Regions from separate parts of the Homo sapiens genome. Here regions 1, 2 and 4 are each linked to region 3. Evidence: promoter capture Hi-C in 16 types of primary human blood cells and fetal thymus (Javierre and others, 2016). All regions are on one chromosome and are shown on one strand. The core of a region is centred on a gene start or on the middle of the fragment in contact, and the rest is flanking DNA. Distances in the headings are between cores, read along the strand shown.

Region 1 (5,970 bases), core at 818-3,317, 180 kb before region 3:
CCTCTGCCTCAGTGCTCTTATCTGTTAGATGGGCAGCTCATCAGGGTGACTGTGAAAATGAAATGAGATGATGGATATAAAGCAGCCTCGTGTTGCACAAATGCATTGTGAGTTGAATTCTAGTTCCTTTCAGCTTCAGCCTCTCTGGGTTTGTAGATTTCGGCTATGCCCCAAGGTTTCAAGGTGAAAGACCTTGAAACCCAGAAGGGCAGAGAGGCCTGGTCTGGTAGAGAATCAGGAGCAGAATCCAGGAGACCTGCCTTACAGCTCACCAGGGGGAAGGTGTGAGACAGCCCACCTGACCCCAGGGAACAAAGGCTGCCCACCTTGATAGGGAGAGGGTGGGCCACCATGCCTGTGCCTCTTCTTGGATAGCCAGTGGGGATGGTGCTATCATTGCACTGAGGCCTGCAAGACTCAGGCCACCACCCTTTGTCGGGAAACAAGGTCTTCCCTCAAGGACAGGATCACCTCTGGTGGGAATCTCCTAGAGAAGAGGCAGCTCCTCAGGCCAGGCACGGTGGCTCACGCCTGTAATCCCAGCACTTTGGGAGGCCGAGGCGGGTAGATCACAAGGTCAGGAGTTCAAGACCAGCCTGGCCAACATGGTGAAACCCCGTCTCTACTAAAAGTACAAAAATTAGCTGGCCATGGTGGCATGTGCCTGTAGTCCCAGCTACTCTGGAGGCTGAGGCAGAAGAATTGCTTGAACCCGGGAGGCAGAGGTTGCAGTGAGCAGAGATTGTGCCACTGCATTCCAGCCTGGGTGACAGAGCAAAACTCCATCTCAAAAAAAAAAAAAAAAAGAGAGAGAAGAGGCAGCTCCTCCGAGATGGGTCAGAGCTCTATGGGGAGCCCCAGGTGGGCATCTAGATGGTGAAGAGCCCAAAGACTCTAGAAGTGGGTTCTCGGGACTTGCGCATGCGTACATGTGTTTATATGTGTATACATGTGTTTATATGTTTGTGCATGGGTGTTGTGTCCATGTGTTTATATGTGTGTGCATGTGTTTGTATGAATCAATGTGTACTGTATGCATGTGTGTTTGTGTGTGCGTATGTAGGTTTGTATGTGTGGGAGATGTATTTGTGTATGTAGATGGGATGTGTGTGTCAATGTGTATATGTGTACATGTAGTGTACTTGTATTCATTGTCTATTACTTTTTTTAAAAATCCAGTTTTAGCAAAGAATATCTATGGCTTATTGCTACATGACAAATTACCCCAAAGCTTAGTCGCTTAAACTATAAACATCTATTTCACAGTTTCTGTGGACTGGGAATCTGAGAGAGGCTTAGCTGGGTATTTTTGGTTCAGGGTCTCTCTTGAAGTTGCAGTGAAGATGTTACTCAGGGTTGGCTGTAGTCTTCTGAAGGCTTGCGTGGGGCTAGAGGATCCACTTTCAAGATGACTCACCCTCCTGGCAAGACGATGCTGGCTGTTGGCAGGAGGTCTCAGTTCCCTACCACATCAGCCTCTCCATATGGCTGCTTGAGTGCCTCATGACACAGCAGCTGGCTTCCTCTGGAGTGAGTGACCTGAGAGAGAGAGAGAACCAGGCAAAAGCCACAGTGTTTTTAAAACCTAGCTTTGGAAGTCCCATGCCATCATTTCTGCCATATTATACTGGCCACAGAGACCAACCCTGATACACTGTGGGAGGGACTACACAAAGGCATGAATTCCAAGAGGTAAGGATCACTGGAGGTCATCTTGTAGGATGGCTATCACATGCAGTATGTGCGTGTGGGTATGTGGGGTGTGTGTTTGTGGGTGTGTACATAAAGATGTGTGTGTTTGTGTATATATGTGTATGTTTTTGCATATGTATATATGGATATATAGCAATATGTTTGTGTGACATGTATCTATGTATTGTCTGCATATGTGTATGCATGCATTTATGTATATGTATCTGTGTATTGCACATGTGTGTTTTTTGCGCACGAGTATGCATGCATGTATTATGCCTACATGCATGTCTCTGTGTTTGTATGTTGTGCATGTGTGCATATATGTGTATGCCTTTTTGTATGTATTTGTAGTATGTGAATGAGCATATGTATGCATGTGTGATGGGTTTGTATATGTATCCAGGTGTATATGTGTGTCTATGCCTGTGGCTGTATATGTTTGCAAACATTGTATGTGCATGTGCACCTGTGTTGTGTGTGTGCATGTATGCTTACATGTGTGTGTTTCTGTATAGATGTCCATGTGTAAGTCCGCATGTGTCTGTTTATGTGTGTGTAGGTGTATATATGTTACGTTTATGTATGTGTGTGAGGTGTATGTGTGTAGGTTTGAGAATATGTGTGTGCATTACTATGTACATATTGCACTTGTATATATAAATGTGTGCTGGCACATGCATACAAACTTAGGAATGTCACCTGCTGTGGGAGGAAAGCCTGGAGTCAGGAGTGGGGAGACTCAGGGAGGAGTCCCTATTATTCCTGGGGTAGCCCATGAGTGGAAGGCTCTGGAGCCTGGAGAGCAGGCTCTCCCTTGCATTTAGGATATGTGGATCCATGGTCCTCTGCATCTGGCTTTCCTTTGTCAAGGCTTTCTGTTGTTGTTCATTTTTGTTTGAACATTTCAGTCTTTCCTAAGCTGTCAAATAAAGCAGCAGAGAAAGGGTGGTCTCTATTGCCTGGAAGTTGAGAGTTCAGTGTAGACTAGTGCCCCTTTGGGGCTGGCCTGGGGAAAACAAGGGGATTTCCCTGGAGAGCACGGCTGACCCTCCCTCTCATCTCTTCTCGCCTAGGGCCACTCTGGGAGCTTCTGGAGTTTATTGGGCAAGAAGGGAGGGCATTTCTTTACTTCTAATAATCCAGTCATCTTAGGAGCCACTCTTTTCCTCTTTCCATTTAGAATATTTCTGACACCAACTTTTGTGTTTAGAAGCTTTTATGCTTTTTTTTAAAAAAAGTATTTTTACCTTTTGATTATGAAAGGTAATACATATGAACAGAAGTAGACAGAATGTAAAGATACAGCTCAACAGATTTTCAGAGTGAATAGCCATTTATACTATCCAATAAGAGGGTTCAGGACATGCCACCCAGAAACATGGCACACTGGCATGTTGAATATTTTAAGCTGGAAGGATCTGAGAAACAGCATGTGCAGGACAATCTCTCTGACTTCCCTGATCCTTCTCTCCTGAAGGGATCTCCCTGATCCTTTCCCCATGTGAAAGGTGTCCTTCCTCCAAAGATGGGGACACAGACAGGAATCTGAACACATGGGCCTTGTTAAGTCTTTTGGGTAAATAAAATTAGTTTTAAGATTGTTGGCAGGCTGGGCGCAGTGGCTCACACCCCTAATCCCAGTGCTTTGGGAGGCTGAGACAGGAGCATTACTTGCGCCCAGGAGTTTGAAACCAGCTTGGACAACATACTGAGACTTGGTCTTTACAAAAAGTTTAAAAAGTAGGCCGGGCTTAGGGGCTCACGCCTGTAATCCCCGCACTTTGGGAGGCCGAGGTGGGTGGATCACTTGAGGTCAGGAGTTCAAGATAAGCCTGGCCAACATGGTGAAACCCCGCCTCTACTAAAAATACAAAAAATTAGACTGGCGTGGTGGCAGGCGCCTGTAATCCCAGCTAGTTGGGAGGCTGAGGCAGGTGAATCCCTTGAGCTTAGAAGTTCAAGGCTGCAGTGAGCTGTGTTCACACCACTGCAATCCAGTCTGGGCAGCAGAGTGAGACCTTGTTTATATAGATTAAAAAAAAAAAAAGCCAGGTACAGTGGCTCACGCCTGTAATCCTAGCACTTTGGGAGGCCGAGGCAGGTTGATCACAAGGTCAGGAGTTCAAGACCAGCCTGACCAACATGGTGAAACTCCGCCTCTACTAAAAATACAAAAATTAGCTGGGCGTGGTGGTACACACCTGTAATCCCAGCTACTCAGGAGGCTGAGGCAGGAGAATCACTTGAACTCAGGAGGCGGAGGTTGCAGTAAGCCAAGATGGCTCCATTCCATTGCACTCCAGCCTGGGTGACAGAGCCAGGCTCTGTAAAAAAAAAAAAAAAAAAAAAAAAAAAAAAAAAAAAAAATTGTTGATAAAATAAAAGCAGAAATGTCTTTGGAGTTGTCAGCATTAAATAGAATGCAGAACTACAATTTTATTTTACCTGGGTTTACTGGTCAAACAATGTTATATCAACTAGATGTTTAAGGTTATAAAACTATAAATCTAAACTAAGAATAAAATATACAATAAAAATAAATTGCTTGATGCATATCAAGCATAGCAGTTTTTAAAAAAAGACAGAGAAGAACCATATATTTAAATTTTTAGGTTTTTTGCTTCTGTTATTTTTTTTTAAACAGGGTTTAGCTTTGTTGCCCAGGCTGGAGTACAATGGCATGATTATGGCTCATTGCAGCCTCAACCTCCCAGGCTCGAGCAATTCTTACCACCTCAGCCTCCCAAGTAGCTAAAACTTCAGGAGAATGCCACCATGGACAGACAATTTTTGTATAGATGGGGTTTGGCCATGTTGCCTAAGCTGGTCTCGAACTCCTGGGCTCAAGGGATCTGTCCACTTCGGCATGCCAAAGTGCTGGGATTATAGGCGTAAGCCACCATGCCTGGCCATTTTTTACACTTACCTGATTTGTCAACAAGAAAAATAACTTGAGATGATGGCTAGCTTTGTTTGATGTTACAGTATGTCTGCCTGAATCAGTTTCCAAATCTTATTTGGTAACTTGCAAACTTAAAGTTAGGTTAAATTAAGCAGTAGATATTCATTAAATGTCTGAACCATTTGTAAGTAAGATAAACTACTGAAACATTAACTACTAAGCATAAATTTAAGCGTATATACTTCTGGCATCTTATTTTTATATGATATAGAGAAGCTAAATATATTTGGGTCTACTAATAAGCATGTTCTTTGCCACACTGAAAGACTGTACTATATTAGGAAGCATATGTTCCTGAAATTATAAAATAGTATATTCATAAATTTACTAATCTACTACAAGATGCCGATATATGACAGGCAGTTCACAATTGCCTGCTTCCTAGTTTTCACAGCAAATTAGGGTCACTAAGGGTTAAAACTTATAATAAGTATACATAAATAAAACAATTAGACATCATAGGATGGAGGGAAACAACTTTGTATGCAAAGTATGCAAGGTATGAAGAAATTATTATTATTATTATTATTTGAGACCGAGTCTTGCTCTGTCACCCAAGCTGGAGTGCAGTGGCGCGATATCGGCCCACTGCAAACTCCACCTTCCGGGTTCAAGCGATTCTCCTGCCTCAGCCTCCCTAGTAGCTGGAATTACAGGCACATGCCACCATACCCAGCTAATTTTTGTATTTTTAGTAGAGATGGGGTTTCGCCATGTTGGCCAGTCTGGTCTCCAATTCCTGACCTCAGGTGATCCGCCCGCCTCGGCCTCCCAAAGTGCTGGGATTACAGGCGGGAGCCACTGTGCCTAGCCAGCCGTGGGTTTTTCATAGATGCCTTTATCAGGTTGAGCAAGCTCTTTTCTATTTCTGAATGTTGAATATTTTTATTATGAAAGGGTTTGGGATTGTACCAAATGCTTTTTCTGCATCAATTGAGATCATGTGGGTTTTGCTCTTTATTCTATAATATAATGTATTACATTAATTAATTTTAATATGTTGAAGTAAACCTGCATTCTTGGGATGTCCACTTTATTATAGTACATTACCAGCCTGGCCAACATGGCGAAACCCCATCTCTACTAAAAATACAAAAATTAGCTGGGCGTGGTGGTAGGTGCCTGTAATCACTGCTACTCAGGAGGCTGAGGCAGGAGAATTGCTTGAACCTAGGAGGCAGAGGTTGCTGTGAGCCAAGATTGCGCCACTGCACTCCAGCCTGGGCAACGAGTGAAACTCCATCTCAAAAACAAACAAACAAAAAAAAAACCAAATTGCCACCTTTGTCATAAACCAAGTATCAAATATTCAT
Region 2 (5,635 bases), core at 1,704-4,203, 130 kb after region 3:
CTTTGTTGCCCAGGCTGGAGTGCAGTGGTGCGATCTTTGCTCACTGCATCCTCCACCTCCTGTGTTCAAGCGATTCTCGTGCCTCAGCTTTTCGAGTAGCTGGGATTACAGGTGTCTGCCACCACGCCCAGCTAATTTTTGTATTTTTAGTAGAGACAGGGTTTTGTCATGTTGGCCAGGCTGGTCTTGAACTCCTGACCTCAGGTGATCCGCCCACCTCAGCCTCCCAAAGTGCTGGGATTACAGGTGTGAGCCACAGCTCCCAGCTGATTGCGGCTTTTTAAATGGGATTTTTTTCTTTCATTTTATTTTCCAATCAGTTGTGTGTATGTAGCAAGCTATTGACTCTCATACATACATTTTTATAGCTAGCCATCTTATCGAATTATCCTATTGATTTTAACAGTTTTGTTTTTGTTTTTGTTTTAACTCTATTCTCTTTGGTTTTCCAGGTGTAGAGTCAAAACTAGTTGCAAATAATTATAATATTATCTTCTCTGTTATGTTTATGACTTTTATTCTCCCATGGCAATGGTGAGTTTCAGTGCTGAACATGGACATTTCCTGTCTTCTTGGGTTTTCCATTTGGTTTCTTCTGAGAATTCTGCTTCTCTGATTTTGTTTATGATTTGGGATATTGAACCTGAGTTCTGACCTGGGCTCTCACTGGTTCTGGGGAGTGAAGGTCAGGGGCTCAGAGGATCCTTAGAATTGGGGGTCCACAAGGCTGGTGGACTGTTTAATCCTCTCCTCCACGTCCACAACTCATATCCCTGTCCCATCGTCCCTCCTCCTTCCTGGTGCTTCCTCCAGCTTGACTTGTAGTCTTGGGAGCTTAGCAAGTTGATTTTAGGGAAAGGAAAACCAAGAAAGGAATGGTTACAAAACTCTAGGATTATTTCAATGGATGGATTTTATAATTAGAGAAATACACTGTGGATGTATTTCTAAGTATATTTTTGCATTAAAAAATACAACTCAAGCACTATTAGGTGCCATGAACAGAAATCAAACTCAAGCCAGCTTACATTTGGAAAAGGCAAATTCATTGACTCCTATCACCAAGCTGCAGGAAGCCTGGGTTGTTGCTTAACTTACTCTCATCCCTGCTTCCTTTGAGGACTGACTTAACTCTCAGGCTGGCCAGTACCCTAAAGTTGGTACCACGGTGTGGGCAGCTCTGGGGCTGCCATCTTAATTCTAAGCACCTGAATTGCTTATCTCATTTAATCCATGACATGAACCTATGAGGTGGGTCTTGTTATCCCCATTTTACAGATGAAGAAATGGAGCCTCAGTGAGGACCCTTCCCAAGTTCACAAAGCTGGTAAAGAACTTTGGGATCTGGAGTCAACTCTGATTGAAGAGCTTGGGCTTTTAGCCCTGTGCATTCTCCTGCCCCTCCTCTTGAGAGCAGAGAGAAAAGAGCTCTTCCCACTCACTCCAGTTGGGCTGGAATGGGCTCAGATTGGCCTGGTCGTTTGCCTATCCCTGGGCCAATTACTGATGTCAAAGGGATCAGTCTCTAGGATTAGCCCAGCCAGGGCTATAGAGAACCAAATGGAAGTAGAGCTCTTTCCCAAATGAAGCGGGGGTGTTGTTCTGGGAAGGCGAAATAATAAATGGCCCCTACAACTCCCAAGCCCAAACCCTCCACTCTAGGTAGACCAGCTATTTCAATGCTCTGGGAACAAGTCAGGCACATTCCTGCCTCCCCATCTTTGTGCCTGTCATTCCTTCTCTCCGAAATGCCCTTTTCTCCTACATCCTGGGTCGAATGTCCCTTCTTTTTGTGTGTCATACCTTTCTTTAGGTAGCATCAAGCTTCCTCCTTTCTCCTGAGTTTTGGGGAGTAGCTCTACAGATTTTTCCCACTATTTGATTGATGAAAAGGTAGTTTTATTTTCCAAAGGTAAAAAAGGAACAGCTTCCTCTACTGACTTTTCTATGATCTTGCTCTCCCCTTCGAACTTTCCAGCTGATGGAACTTTGCTGGGAAAAAAAAGCAGCTCAAGGTGCCTGTGCCAAGATATTAGCATATACTGCCCCAGGCAAAGACACCGCTGGCATGCTCCATCTGTTTTTGCCAAGTTCTGTTATGTAAGTGACAGCTGAGGGTATCTTTTAAGAAGCGTAGTGTTTGTGAATGATGTGTCTTAATAGAGGAACAATGAGACACACTGGCATGCACAGCGTGCTTTGTGGGAGCAGGTTTTTTGCTGGAGGGTAATTTGGAGGGGAAAAGATGTTCAGGAGGAATAGCAGTTAAGGTGGGGTGGTGGGTAATAGTGACAAGAGGGTTCTTTTCATTTGTGAAGGGCTGCCTGTGGGCTGAGCCTCCTCTGGGCATCTCTCTTGGGGCAGGGCAAACACACTCTTGAGAATCAACTGTGAGGAGTTTGCTGGAGTCCCCAGCACCTGCTCTTCTCCCACCCAAGTTAGAGACCAGTCCATGTTTAGCCCCCTGGGGACTCTAGATATTATCTCTAAGCTTGGAAGCAAGGAATTCACTTGGCCAGTGTGGTGGTTGTAAAACATAGCTCCTAGATTCTTTGGCACTTTTCCTATCTGGGATGGAGTCTATGACCTTTCCTCTTGATTCTGCTTTGGCCAATAGAGTATGGTGGAAGGGCTAAGACTGAAAAGGCCATGTGGCTTCCCCTTGGTGCTCTGATAGTGTTTGCTTTCTAGAGACCCCTTCTCAGAAAGCCTTCTCTCTAACTCAACTGCCATGTTGTGAAAAGCCGAATCCACGTGGAGAGGCCATGTATAGGTGTTCTGGCTAGTCCTTAGGCCATCCCAGCCCAGGCACTAGACCTGTGAGTGCAGAAGCCACCTTGGAAGCCCCAGACATCGTGGAGAAGAGAAGAACCATCCCCACTGTACCTGAATCCCCACAGGAATTAGGAACAAAATAAAATGGTGGTTGTTTTCTGTCACAAAGTCTTGGGGATACAACAAAGATGACGGAAACAGTCAGAGTCTCTTGATGTCAGCTATAACCGAGGGTCCCAGAACCCCCTTCAGCTTTCTAGTGCCAGAGAGTCAGGAGTTGTGTGATGTTCTGGGTAGAGTGGGGTTCTTTGCAGGGAACTGGGATCCCGGGACATCTGATATTATTTCGTAAGGGCTTCTAATGCATATAAAAACGATGCCATCTTGTCCAGGAGCGTTTTCCCAGCTTGGAGTCTGCTTCGCTTCCCATGACATTTGGGCACTCTGCCGTACCCTATCAGCCTTGATGGAAAATTCCAATGGACCTTTTTCTCTACAGATGTATTTATTCTCTAAGAAGCAAGTTCCAGCACCCCATGCACAGGGTTTGCCAACCATCTGGAAGGTTTGATCTCAATACCTTTCTTCCTCCTGCCATATTGTTTATCTCCTGGTCACTGAGTGTGATACTGAGTTTACGGAAGCTTGAGGGATTTCTGCCAGCCAGGGAATCAATAAGTAGTGGTTGAGTGATTATGCTTTCTAAAGGCTTGTGGAGGAAAGGAAGAACTATATGACTCAGTCCATTCTCTCAAGAGCCACAAACATGTAAAGTAAAATAGTACAAAGATTATAATATTTCCAGCATTTATATAGCACTCTTATCTAAGAGAGTGGGTAGCAGGTACTCTTCATTTTCTGTGTGTGTCTGTCTGTTGGAGTTTAGGGACCTCTTTTTTTTTTTTGAGACAGAGTCTCACTTTGTCGCCCAGGCTGGAGTGCAGTGGTGTGATCTTGGCTTTCTGCAACCTCTGCCTCCTGGGTTCAAGCAATTCTCTGCCTCAGCTTCCTGAGTAGCTGGGATTACAGGCGCCTGCTCCCATGCCCGGCTATTTTTTTAATATTTTTAGTAGAGACGGGGTTTCACCATCTTGGCCAGGCTGGTATTGAACTCCTGACCTTGTGATCCGCCTGCCTTGGCCTCCCAAAGTGCTGGGATTACAGGCGTGAGCCACCGAGCCTGGCCAGGGACCTCTTTTTATAATACATAAGATTATAAAGGAAGCTGATCATATTGTAATATGGCTGTCCAAACACTAAAAAACCAAACAAAATCAAATTTGTGAATGTAGTAACAGTTTATCTTTTGTATTAGCCCATTAAATAATAAAACCTAGCAATAGTTTTATAATCACCCTAATATTGAAGTAGTTATGAGTATAAACTATATATTTTAGACACTGCAACAACTGTAGTGTGACATGAAATATCTGTGGTTCTGTTGGTGACAAAGTCACAGGTATGTTAATACCTCCATGTGAGTGCCTACATTCTAATTGAGAGAAATGCTAAATTTTAATTAGAGGTTAATGCAGGCAGAAAGGGGTCCATGGTTTGTAATAAATTTAAAAACAATGAAAAAATTGAAGTTGGTCTTGCCGTCTTTTATTTTTTATTTTTTTGAGACAGAGTCTCACTTTGTCACCTAGGCTGGAGTGCAATGGTGCAATCTCGGCTCGCTGCAACCTCAGCCTCTCAGGCTTAAGTGACCTTCCCACCTCAGCCTTCCGAGTAGCTGGAACTACAGGCACATGCGACCATGCCTAGCTAATTTTTGTAATTTTTGTAGAGACAGGGTTTCACCATGTTGCCCAGGCTGGTTTCAAACTCCTGGGCTCAAGTGATCCTTCTGCTTAGCCTTTGAAAGTGCTGGGATTACAGGTGTGATCCACCACATCTGGCCAGTCTTGATTTTATTATCACTATGTACCATTGGCTTTCAAGATTGTCAGTGGCCAGGCGCAGGGGCTTATGCCTGTAATTCCAGCACTTTGGGAGATGGAGGCTGGCGGATCACCTGAGGTTGGGAGTTCGAGACCAGCCTGACCATCATGGAGAAACCCCGTCTGCACTAAAAATACAAAATTAGCTGGGTGTGGTGGCGCATGCCTGTAATCCCAGCTACTTAGGAGGCTGAGACAGGAGAATCACTTGAACCCAGGAGGCGGAGATTCAACAAGATCGGGCAACAAGAGTGAAACTCCACAAAAAAAAAAAAAAAAAAAAAAAACAACAAAAAAGATTGTCAGTGACAAAATACATCCCTGCAGGGGGCCAAAGGTTCCCATTGCTTGTCTTCCTCACCCCCATATGCCACTGAATAGAGATGTAATTCTGGTATCGTTGTTTCCCCATCTAAGTTCAAAGACACCTAAATCCTATCCATGGACTCCAGGTTACAAACTCTTGTTGTATGGTGTGTCATGGTATGGGGGGTGGGCTTTAGAATCAGACAGGTCTGAGTTTGAGCCAGCTGTGTTATTCATTAGTTATATGACCTTGAGAAAATTGCTTAACCTCTCTGAGAATCGGTTTCCTTCTCTGGATAACAGGGTATAATAATGGTGCCCTTCCCATCATTGTTGGGAGGATTCCCTGAGATTCTAAAGTGAATGACATGGTGAGCACTGTGTTCGGCCCTTGGAGAGGGCTCCATCAATGGTGGTGGAGCTGACCGTCATTGTAATGGTTGATCTTCCCATTGGCGCTGTGCAAAGGTACTATTGCCTTGGTTTATCAGCTGAGAAAACCAGTCTTCAAGTCTGCCGAGGTGTTCTGATGGGGCAGGAGATGCCTGCTGTCCTGCTGTCACCCAACTGCCAAAGAGAACCTGATTTGCTCTTTCTCTCCACCATCCTGC
Region 3 (5,453 bases), core at 1,949-4,448:
ACGGCCAGATGGCTGGTATTCTGGATCTCCCACTGGATCAGAGAAACAGGCCATCAGCAAGGGACAGATTACAGGGAGCAGCACACAGCTGGGGGACTGGGTAGGCAGTAGGTGCCACTCAGGATGGGCCCCTCATCCCCTGCCAACCTCTGCCCATACCTATCATTTCCCCAGCATAGACAGCCAAGAGGCTCATCAGAGAATGTAGAAACAGGCAGGGGCTGGGAAGTAGTTTTGTTCTGTGATTCTAGTGCTAACTTGTCATTTCTCTGGGCTCTCTGTGACTTCTCAGATCCTGTCCCCGTCACTCTGCCACCCCCAGACCTAGACCATACCTGTAACTCCTGGATCTCCTGGTACGTGCGTTCCAGTTCAGCTCGGGCGAAAGCTTTGTGCAGCTGGTACATGTGCACAGGGTCACGCACAGGGTGGGCTGTCAGGGCACTTCGGAAATGAGGGTCCCCCTCCTGCACTGGCTCCCCAGGGCTCAGCTCCAGATGGCTATAGTGCACCCCCTGGGGAGAGGAAGGGAAGGGATCTGTGATGAGCTGGCATTGTCTTCCGTTGTCTCATAGTAAGTGTCTCATCTCCTCAGCCTATGACCTGTTGTGGACTTGCAGTCTGAGGGTTTAAGTCTACCTTGACCAGTTGTGAGTCTGTGTGACCTTCAGCATGCCTCCGCTAGCTCATCTGCGAAATGGGCATGCGTCCTGTCTCAGAGCTGTCCAAGGGCTAAAATAATAACTAACATCAAATGCCTATTATGTACAAGGCTCCCTGATTTTTTCTAATCCTTGTAACAACCCCGAGCAATAATTATTTCCATTGGCACAAAGGAAGATACTGAAGCCCAGGATATTTAGTAATTTACTGGGGGTCACAGAGATAGAAAATAAATGTCCGAATTGGCATGGAAAAGCAGACCTGTATCTCCAACATCCCTTTGCCTCTCAGAGGGATTTGAACATGACAAGGAGGTATCAGTGGGATAGCTTATCATCCCACCTCGTGGTCACCAGTGCAGCCCACCCCGGTGGCATCGAGAATGCAGCGACCCAGCCACTCGTCAGGGCGCGCACTGACGATGTCGTTGCGGCAGCCTTCCAGGTGGGGGCGCAGTTGTTGCAGCAGCATGCGCGACAGCAGCACCCCAAAGCCTCCGTGGCAGTAGCGGCCGGGGGTGGGCTCTCCGCCGATGAAGTCCTGGGGCCGGCCCAGGTACAGGTGGGCGGCGGAGGCCAGGCTGAGGTGGCCAGTTAGGCGTGCCAGGCCGTGCGCCTCGGTGTAGGTGGTGTCAGGCACCAGGAAGAACCAGTCAAAGTCGTCGCCGTGCTGCTCCAGCAGGTGGCGCAGCGCCAGGTGCAGGTGTCCAATGGGTCGCTCCTCGCCTAGCGTCACCACTGCCATGCCAGGTGGGGCCCGGCGGCCCCGTGCGCCCGTCAGGAACACCACACGCTCCAGCCGGTGCCCCAGCGTGCGGTTCACGGCCACGCCCAGCGTGGGCAGCGTGGTCTGAGAGGTCAGCACCGCCACCAGCAGCCTCTGCCTGATGCCCAGCTCCGTGCTGATGTAGCGGGTCCTAGGGGAGGAGATGGCACAAGCTTATCAAAAGGACAACGGGGCGGGGGGTGGGGGGGAGGTGGTCAGCACAGACCCTGGCAGGTCACGTCTTCTCTGTATCTGTTCTCTCACCTATGAATAGGTTAAAAATAAACCCTCTCTCCCAGGGGTCATGAGGATTTAAACGAAATGGTCTTAAACAGGTAGTGCTTTGCATTTGGGAGATGGCAATACCCACCCAGATAGGAGAGAGATATTGTGGGTCTGACTCCGGGGTTCGCTACTTAGTAGTTATGTCCTTGAGCATGTTATTTAACCTGAGCCATCTGTAAAATGGGACTGATTATATCTGTTTAAAGCACCCAGCCAAACGCTGGACACACCATGTATCTACTCATTTCTATATAAATATGCCATTATGCCACAAATGCCTCACATAAATGACATAAAGGAACGTTTGGCATAGGGGTGTACTGAGTGTTTTTGCGGGGAGGGGCAAACTGCACTCAGGGGCTCTAGGAACTTACCTTTTGGTAAGGCAGAAGGTAAATTGCAGAACCAGCATTTGAACCCAATGTTACTTAGAAGTTATTTCAACTCATCAGCAGAGACATTAATGAGATAGGTACATTCCTCCCTCCCCCATCTCACCCTGAGGTGGCCCTTGTAACCCACTCAGGAACAAGAGATCCAGGTAAATCCTAGTTCTCTCCTTTCTCTTCCCCTGTCTCTATACACTCACCCTATATATAAGTCATTTCTCTAACACCAGCAGCCCAGCCAGGGAGCTAGTAGGATCTCTGGGGCGCCATCGGGTCGAGCCGGTTTAGGACACAGTCCAGTAAGTTCAGCCCAGGCCGGGATAGGGCCCAGAGAAAGTCTCGGACTGGCCCCACGGCTCTCGGGAAGGCAGGGCCATCGGAAGTTATCGGGGCCCAAAGACTTCCTGGCTCGCCAGCCCCTTCCTTCCGGAGCCTGACCCGGGCCCGGGCGACCTCCCCGCGCGCTTCCCGGCCGCTGCCCAGGGGGTAGAGCGGGCGCAGCCGATCACTACCTGACGGCCTTTTTGGCGGCCTGGCCGGGCTGTGCAGGGTGGTAGGGCAAGACGCGCGGCTCCCAATTCTCCCCGGCGCCTTCGCCGGCCCCGGGCTTCTCGCGCTCCGCTCCGGGCTGCACCGAGTTGGGCCGGCGCGCCGCGTTGGTGTTGCCGCGCGGCGGCAGCTCAGAGTCTCCAGGTTGGGGCGGGCCTGGGCCGCACGGCTCCTCCACCCAGGTGACGCTGAGCAGGCTCAGGGTGAAGCCCAGGGAGATGCCCACGGCCACGGGCCCTGCGGGCCGCAGCACCGACAGCAGCAGCGATGCCCGCATGGCGCCCGGACCGCGGGTCCCCGGCCCCGGCGAACCCCCAGAGCAGCCAGAGGAGTCTCCGAGGGGGCGGGACCGGGGAGGGGGCGGATCCGGAGGGCTCGGGCCCCGCGGGCGGGCCCGCTCCCTCCCCGCAGAGCAGAGCCAGCGGCCCGAGCCGAATCCCCGGAGCCGCGCCTCGATTCCCCTCCAGCAGCTGCTCTGGGCTGCGCAGGGTTCTTGCGCTCGGCACTGGAGCCTCAGCCGCGGCCGCAGCTGTCCGACGTGTCACTGCAAGGGCCCCGCCCCCGGGGTGGGGTCTCGGGCTCTCGCTACCGGAGAGGGAGGAGAAGGGGGAGGTTAAAGGGGAAGGACCCCCGGAAGTGCCCCCTCCTCAGTGCGGGAGAGGGAGACGCCGGGGGCGGAGTCCCCTGCCTCCCGCGGCGTGGTTGGTGCGTCCCATGTGACGTCAGAAGCAGCCCGCCCCTGCCTGGATGGTGCGCCCTGAGTGACGTCAGGAGCAGAGGCCGGAGCTGTCCATCAGCACCAAAGGCCGCGGGCGGGCTCAGGGCATGGGGCCGCGGTTCTGGGGCGGCCCGAGCCCCGGCTCCTGCGCCTTCCCCTTCCTCAGGCCCAGCCCGAGTTCCCGGACGCCGCGGGACTGGAGTGCCAGCCGGTGTTGGACGTGGAGCGGCGCCGCCACCGCGCCGACACCATTCTCTCCGGCCCAGCAGCCCCCTTCCTCGCACGACGGACTTTCCCTGGACCCCAGTCAGTTGGAGCCTCTGGCGCCCCGCAACCCCGGCCCCTCGGGCCTCTGCACAGCCTCTTTCACTCAGAAGCTCAGGTCGCCTCCAGCCCAGGTAAATCTTGGACAATCCCATATTGAGCCGCCCACAGATGAATCTCTTGGCTGCCTCCTTCTCACTGGCAGCACGCTCCCTTCATCCCCCCGACTCCCGTCCCTCTTTTAACTTCATCCCAGCCTCCACTAGCCAGGCACTTTTGTTTCCCTTTGTCTTTGCTCCCCACTCCAGAGATGCTTCCGGAGCTGCACAAATGTGGATACTATTCCTTTGTCCACTGTCCTTGCTGAGTTCTCCCAATCCCTCTCCCACCCCCATCCTGGTGGGGACCCAGGACTCCTCCGTGACCCCAACTTTCCCTCTGTCAGGTTAACTTGGGAGGGTGACTCCCTTCTATTCCCAGCACTATGCCGGGGACTGTGGCAACACTGCGGTTCCAGCTGCTGCCCCCTGAGCCAGATGATGCCTTCTGGGGTGCACCTTGTGAACAGCCCCTGGAGCGCAGGTACCAGGCACTGCCGGCCCTCGTCTGCATCATGTGCTGTTTGTTTGGAGTCGTCTACTGCTTCTTCGGTGAGATCCCCATCTCATCCCTCACCTGGGCTCCCCAGTGTTTCCCCGAGTTCTTTTTCTGGGCCCCCAAGTCTTCTCTGAATCCCTCTACCATCATGAATAATTCTTCCTTTTCTTTCATCCCACACATTTATAGATTGTCTAGACTCTAGATTATAGGAAAAACAGGTTTTTGGATTAGGCACACCTGAGTGTGAATTTACTTAGCTTTGCAGTTACTAATTGTGATGTCTTGGGCACATTAATCTGTCTGAGCCTCAGTTTTCTCATCTGAACAATGATCACAATATTTGTCTCATGTAGTGTTGTAAGAATTAGTAAGCATTCAATAAATTGTAGCTATTGTGAGGATGTGTTTGGCTAACTGTGCTAGGTAGCCACTGAAAACACTTAGCAGGGTTATTACACATGGTCCCTTACCACAGGGCATATTGTCTGACAGGGAGGAGACTCCCTGGAGCATTTACACCTGGGATACATATTAGAGTGGGCTGGATGGTGGTCACACACATCCATCCAGCCTACAAGGCAGGCTCCGGTAATCAGAGCTGCTGTGAATACTTGTACAGGACGGGTACTAAATAAGGGAGCTCAGCTGAGTGGGCAAGTGGGGGCTAAAGTCCAGCTCATGCTCTGACAAACTCTGGGCCTTGGCACAAAGCTGCTTTGCCTAGAGAAAGGCACACCTTTTTCTAATATGCATAAAGGTGCCAGATGGGCTAGTGGCCCAGTATAATGGGAGTAAGTGACCAGTGGCTTTGCAGCAAGAGTTACAGAACTTCAGAGAGGAGAGTGAGCTCTATGGGCTGGGGGCCCAAAGAAAGCCTCCAGGAGAATTGTAGGTGAGTGGGACCAGTGGGGGCAAATGAGTCTTGGGGGCTGGGGTTCCAGGTTGAGCAGAGGTAGTGCAAGACTTGTGTTCTGCAGCCTCCCCCTGCAATGGGTGGGTAGACAGGGTTGGGAGCCAGATGGTCCCTCCCATTCCTCCCCCAAACTCTGGGCTGAACAACTGAAGAGTAGGCAGGAGGAAGTGCCCCCCGCAAGGGTTCAGGACACGTTCTGGGCCTCCAAGGATTCTGTATCACCTCACCCCCTCCATATCTGTACCCACTCCCTCTGCATGTTGCTCAATGCAGCCTCATATTCCCTCTCCTGGGCTTCCTGACATCC
Region 4 (5,772 bases), core at 1,451-3,950, 150 kb after region 3:
TTGCTAATATTCCACTGGCCAAAGCCAGTTACATGCCAAGCCCGTATTTGAGGATTGGATAAACGGATTTTGCCACTTGATGAGAGAAGTTGCAAAACATTGTGGCCATTTTTCCCGATATACTACAGAAATGTAAATAAATTTGTATTCTTCTGCTTTTAAAAAAACAACTATAGGTGCTTCCTCTTTTTCCATTTTTTAAAGCGAATATATTATATATTTACAACTTACTAGAGGCTTTAAATATAATCTGCAGATGACTCTAAAATGTAAGTAAAACGATTATTCCCATGTTACCATTAAGGAAGCTCACTGAAGGTCACACAGCTAGTAAGTGGGGAAGCAGAGATTTTAACCTTGATCTCTCTGGCTCTACTTACTCTTAGCAGACTTTTCATCATGATGCTTCTTTCCCTCTTGTTGGGTGTTCAGATGTTCATATTCTTTGAAAATGTAGGAAATATCAGGAGAATTTCCCCAAGTTGTGTGCAACTAGCTCTCTACTTCAACGCTTTTCTGACCCAAGGGTGATTGGACCTTACAGGAGAACCATGTCAACTTTCAAGTGCACCAAATAAGATACCTCTGACTTTAGGTAATTTTGATGTTTGCATTTCCCCTAAGCCATGGGGGCAAAGGAGTGGTAGCAAGATTTCACCAAACACTAAATTAAGGATCTGGGTACCAACCCATGTGACTGCTCACCGTCTCCTCCCTCTTCTCACCAGGCATATTATTGCATTCAAACCTGGTCCAGCAATCTTTCTTTTCCTGCCTCCTCTTCCTAGATCAAGTATCTTCCAGATGATTATCGTGAAATTATTCAGGTATCCTTCAGCCTTCCCCTGGCCAGTCATCTTCCTGTGATTTATCAGCTGACGGTTGGTTCCTGGTGGAACCAAGCTGATCAGACTTCAGGCTCAGGATGTGCTTTGGAGAAGGCTGTGCTAGGTTTGGTAACCTTACTTGTCAAATGGGTGATATTCAGAACAAAACAAAATAGGTATAATTAGTTGGACTGGAAAGATCATACATGAAGATTAACAGTGACATCTAGGAGGAGCTGTCAAAGCTTGGCCAGGAGCTTGGCCAGGAGCTCAGATGGGCTTCTCCACATCCTAACCACCACTTCAAGAACTTAGGCTCAAAATTAGGCAACTTCCCTAAAATCTAAAACCCAGGTATGTGAATGCCTCAAATGCTCAGCCTCTCAAAAATTCCCAGCCAACACAGGTGTGTTTTGGGCATTTTCCTGTGGTGTCCTGGAGTGGCTCATACCAGCTCATGAGAGCTGATTGTCAAATTTTCAGGAAATTTTCAAGCCAATTGTTAAACACAGCCATTCTTAAAAATTAAATTGTGTAAATTTACAATTAAGTAAATTACATGAAAAAGGCAATAAATTCTCGAAACTCATTACTTCCTATTTATTCTACTACCTTTTTACTGTTCTCTATGATTGTGAGGTTATTTCTACCCATTTTTTCAGTATGGTGGAAACAGTATATCACGGTGTGCTATTGCACATTTCTTCCCAATTCTGTAGTCCATGACATCAAAATGGTAGCTTGGAATCAACCCTGGTGGGAATATTTGCACCTTGGAAATCTGCAAATGGTACAAATCAGGGCTTGATTTATTGTCTCGTTGATTGCCTAGACTTAAGAAAGTGATGGAGAAGATGTGAATATTGCATATTAAACTTAAACGTGTGTCATGTCCATAACTATTACATTGTGAATAGTAAAAAAAGGCTTAGGAAATTCTCCCGGTATTTGAAACTATCATCTGATACAGCAAGCAATCACTCATGTCATTGAAGAGCAAGTGAAAATACTGACATACATCTTTATTAACTCACTTTCTTTTTTCTTGTTAATGTAAAGGAAAATATCAACCAACATTCATGTTGTAACCACACTCATTTATCTATTCCAACCCTAGATTGAGTACAGATAGAAGAATTTTGCAAAAATCAACAAAGCCTTGTGTGAGGATCTATTGGCTATATGGAGTTTATCATAAAGAGTATAATTTGTTATTATCTGTAAATTGGGTACTATAGATCCTTTATATTGGTAAGATTTGTATCAAACATCTACATGCAGTATATCTATATATGCATTCATTTTTCCCCAGAGAGCAATTATTAAATATTTACCAATGCTCTTTCTGAAGATGTTGAAGTGTGAGGATGTGGTGGGTCCTTCTATGTGAAATTCAGGGTTTCCCTGGGTCTTCTGGTAGGAAATGTGATCAAGTGTGTTGACCACACAGGAGTGAAAAATCTGTAGTCATCTCTGTGAATGAGATCAAGCGACAGCGAAACTTTCTGCTGGTGTGGGTAACGTGGTGATGGCCATGGTCAGTAAGGCGAGCCAGAGCTCAGAAGGAAGGTGCATCCAGCAGTGGTCATGTGACAACAGAAGTCATGCCAGAGAAAAGATGGCTTGTTTCTTTATTTTGAAGATAATGCCAGGGTTGTAGTAAGTAATAAACGTGTGATGAAAAGTTCTGTCATCACAGGGCCAGTTGCAAAGGAGTATGCAGCCATGTGGCCCAGGCTGACGTCCAATGCTGGCAGCACTGCCTGAATCTTTAGCGTATTTGTAAAAAATTAAAAAAAAAAACATTAAACTCTGCCCCCGCCTCCCAAAACACCCACCAAAAACGATTTACCCCCACACTGTTGGCATATTCCCACTACTCTCTTACTGGTCACATAGAAGTTGGTGGATTTTCCTCCTCGATCTGCGTACTTGAGAATACCATTTTTCCTTTTATCCTTGGCTCCCCTCAGTCACAGAGGGCCCTATAAATGAGCACATTCCGCCAGCTGGGGATGTCCAAAGTAAAAAAAAAAAAAAAGACTTCCCTGCAATCTGAGGCTTTCATAGGAAGAACTGAAACCTGAGCAGGTAGAGGACAGCATTAGCAGTTCCTGGGTCTCATTTTAGGTCTCCTGTAAGTGAATGTCTTGTTCATCACTAAGGGCATTTGAGAATGTTTGCATTTACATTTACCAAAGTAACAGGGACAACAAACATTTATCTGCTTTATCATTTACAAAGCACATCTACATTTCTTAGCTTATTTTGTTTACTTCTAAAGATTTCTGTTTCTAGCATTTCACACGCAGCTGGAGAGGGGGCTAGTTACCATAGACACTGGCTCACTCTCCAGGGTGTAGCGGCCTTTCGGACATGGTATTAAAGGAGTTTACTTGCCCTTTTCTACTCTCTTTATTATACTCAATCTGCAGTGAATTCAGGGCAGGAAACAAAACCCCGGAAAGGGGTTATTAATGGTTCCAATAGAGAGTAATCCCACTTGCCAAAAGTAAGTAGGATGTGGTTACCTTTGATTTTGTTTCTCTCCCCAGGGGTCATGGGTGTGGAAGGAGAGCCGTAGTACATCAAGGGCAGAAACCGGTTGCTTCAAGTGTTATGGAGCGAGTTTCTTAGCATTTCCTAAATACTGTACCTGCCGTAGCTTTCTTCATGTGGTAAATTAAAAAACACATTGATATTACAACAAAGGAAAATACCACCCGACCGGGTTATTTTGTTTTGTTGTTGTGATCCACATCATAGCATGTAATGTTTGCCTTGGAAAAGTCTTCATAGAGTAAGGAATGAATGAAGACAAAAGTCCGTGGTGACTCATTGGTAATAGTTCAAACCTGTTAAAAACAACTGGGAGAGGTCTTTACCGTACACAGGGCTTTGGGAGTTTGCCTATTTTCCAGTTAACGTGATTGATTTTTCAGAGCTATGTGGGATCCCCTCGGACCCACAAATGGTCATTTGCGACTAAAAGAACTGATTTGATGGCCTCCAATGGTCAAACGAAACCAGATTGTTATCAAATCTTAACTCTATGCTGCATGAGCTTGGATTGTCTACAGTGGCATCCTTGGTGCACTTTAGAATGAAAAAAATTCAATTTCAAAAGTAAACACAGAGAACAAAAATAGTTCAGAGGACAGCCTACACAGATAACAAAGCCAGCAAATACAACCGAAGGATGCCGCACTGAAGCGGTATTTTATATAGCCAAGGATTGCCAAATATGTTTTTTCACCGAGATCTGCTTTTTTTTCTCTTTAGTTATTGATTAGCTTTGCGAAGGAGAGAATATTGACATGTGCAGAAGAGCGTAACACGTTGAAATAGTTTTAGATAGAGTATCTGTGGCAGGTCTTCGTGTTTAGATTTAAGTGGGAACCACTGTGGGTTCTGAAATAGCTTCTATAACCAGTTTCATCACAGACCTAATCATCCAAGACATCATTCCCTGTAATTTGACTGAAAAGCAGTGAGACAGCAAAAGCTTCAATTCTTGAAAAGGATTTAGCGGCCAGCCATCTTATGGTTATTAAAGACGTTCTTGTGCCGTCTCCTCCCCTCTCTCTTTACTCCAGCCATGACTAAATAAATCCAGAGGCTTGAATCAAACATGGAAAAGGGGAGCGACAAGCAAAGGACCAGAACAGACTCCTGGGGAAACAATTTGGTTAAAAAAATATTAAACAAGGCTTTACTGTCCTACAGAAGTTCTAGTCTCAAATGATCGAGAACCTCAAAAGTGAAATATTAAAAATTTTTTTTTTTCAGAGGACAAGTAAGGACACTCTTAGGCCAGACTATAGCTGAAAGAACCCAGCATTAGTTAAATGAAGACCTGGCTCTTGGAGCTTCATCTCCACTGCGTGACCTTGAATGAGACTCTTAACCTCTCTTAGCCTTGATCCCTGGTTTGAGGCTATGTTTGCCTTCAGCTCCTTTCACTCCCTGGATTCTAAAGCTTTCCCTTTTTAAGATTAAGATCCTTTGAGTACTTTGCTCTCACATCAGGTCGTCTTAATTCTTATGCTATGGATTTTTAGCAAACTTTATGGTATTTAGAAACTATATAGGCGATATTTGGGAAGGTCAGACATTTTTGGAATGTATAAACCAAAATGTAAGGACAGTACCCCCCTTCAGGTAAGCCTATGTCATCAAAAACTAGCCTTCATTTCAATTATGTACATTATAGCATTAATTTTTTTTGTACTTAAATCTGACTTCTTTTTAAAAATTATTGGGGCTGGGCGTGGTGGCTCACACCTGTAATCCCAGCACTTCGGGAGGCCGAGGTGGGAGATCGAGACCATCCTGGCTAACACGGTGAAACCCCGTCTGTACTAAAAATACAAAAAAATTAGCCGGGCGTGGTGGCAGGCACCTGTAGTCCCAGCTACTTGGGAGGCTGAGGCGGGAGAATGGCATGAACCCGGGAGGCAGAGCTTGCAGTGAGCTGAGATCGTGCCACTGCACTCTAGCCTGGGTGACAGAGTGGGACTCCGTCTCAAAAAAAAAAAATTTTTTTTATATTCAAGAGGTAGATGTGCAGGTTTCCTACATGAGTATATTGAGTGATGATGCTGAGGTTTGAGCTTCTGTTGATTCTGTCACCCAAATAGTGAACATGGCATCCAATAGTTTTTCAACCCTTGTCTCCCTCCCTTCCTCCCTCCCTACCCCTTTTTGGAGTCCCCATTGTCTATTGTTCCCATCTTTATATCCATGTGTACCCAATGTTTAGCTCCCACTTATAAGTAAGAACATGTGGTATTTGGTTTTTTGTTCCTGCATTCATTCACTTGGGATAATGGCCTCAAGCTGCAGCCATGTTGCTGCAAAGGACATGATTTTGTGTTTTTTTTATGGCTGGGTAGTATTCCATGGTGTCTGTGTACAACATTTTCTTTATTCAGTCCACATTGAT

Evidence for each region. The method cuts DNA at HindIII sites, captures the fragments that hold promoters and counts their contacts. A CHiCAGO score of 5 or more calls a contact.
Region 1: a contact is called between a fragment that was not itself captured here and the fragment with the promoter of CHPF in region 3, in 2 of 17 cell types (neutrophils and monocytes). The highest score is 5.7, in neutrophils.
Region 2: a fragment that was not itself captured here is called in contact with the fragment with the promoter of CHPF in region 3 in 3 of 17 cell types (M0 macrophages, M2 macrophages and M1 macrophages); the score reaches 8.3 in M0 macrophages.
Region 4: a fragment that was not itself captured here is called in contact with the fragment with the promoter of CHPF in region 3 in 2 of 17 cell types (M2 macrophages and M0 macrophages); the score reaches 6.0 in M2 macrophages.

What each region holds. Positions count from the first base shown.
Region 1 is chr2:219,361,270-219,367,239 of GRCh38, forward strand. It overlaps LOC105373883 (a long non-coding RNA gene), which reads right to left. Exons shown (of 2, transcript XR_923917.3): 2 at 1,233-1,539. Among named protein-coding and RNA genes, the nearest start is that of DNPEP, 24 kb to the right of the region's middle. RefSeq lists an enhancer at 1,294-1,343. The HindIII fragment of the contact is 1,677 bases long and covers 1,230-2,906 here.
Region 2 is chr2:219,673,301-219,678,935 of GRCh38, forward strand. No RefSeq gene overlaps it. Among named protein-coding and RNA genes, the nearest start is that of SLC4A3, 48 kb to the left of the region's middle. The HindIII fragment of the contact is 928 bases long and covers 2,490-3,417 here.
Region 3 is chr2:219,540,611-219,546,063 of GRCh38, forward strand. CHPF (chondroitin polymerizing factor) reads right to left here and starts at 3,199. Exons shown (of 4, transcript NM_024536.6): 1 at 2,615-3,199; 2 at 1,006-1,579; 3 at 336-515; 4 at 1-32. The coding sequence starts at 2,928. TMEM198 (transmembrane protein 198) reads left to right here and starts at 3,418. Exons shown (of 5, transcript NM_001005209.3): 1 at 3,418-3,767; 2 at 4,079-4,283. The coding sequence starts at 4,118. RefSeq lists silencers at 2,631-2,720, 2,731-3,440, 3,481-3,620. The HindIII fragment of the contact is 11,388 bases long and covers 1,600-5,453 here.
Region 4 is chr2:219,695,621-219,701,392 of GRCh38, forward strand. It overlaps the pseudogene RPL23P4. Among named protein-coding and RNA genes, the nearest start is that of LINC02832, 31 kb to the right of the region's middle. RefSeq lists an enhancer at 2,822-4,021. The HindIII fragment of the contact is 3,260 bases long and covers 1,071-4,330 here.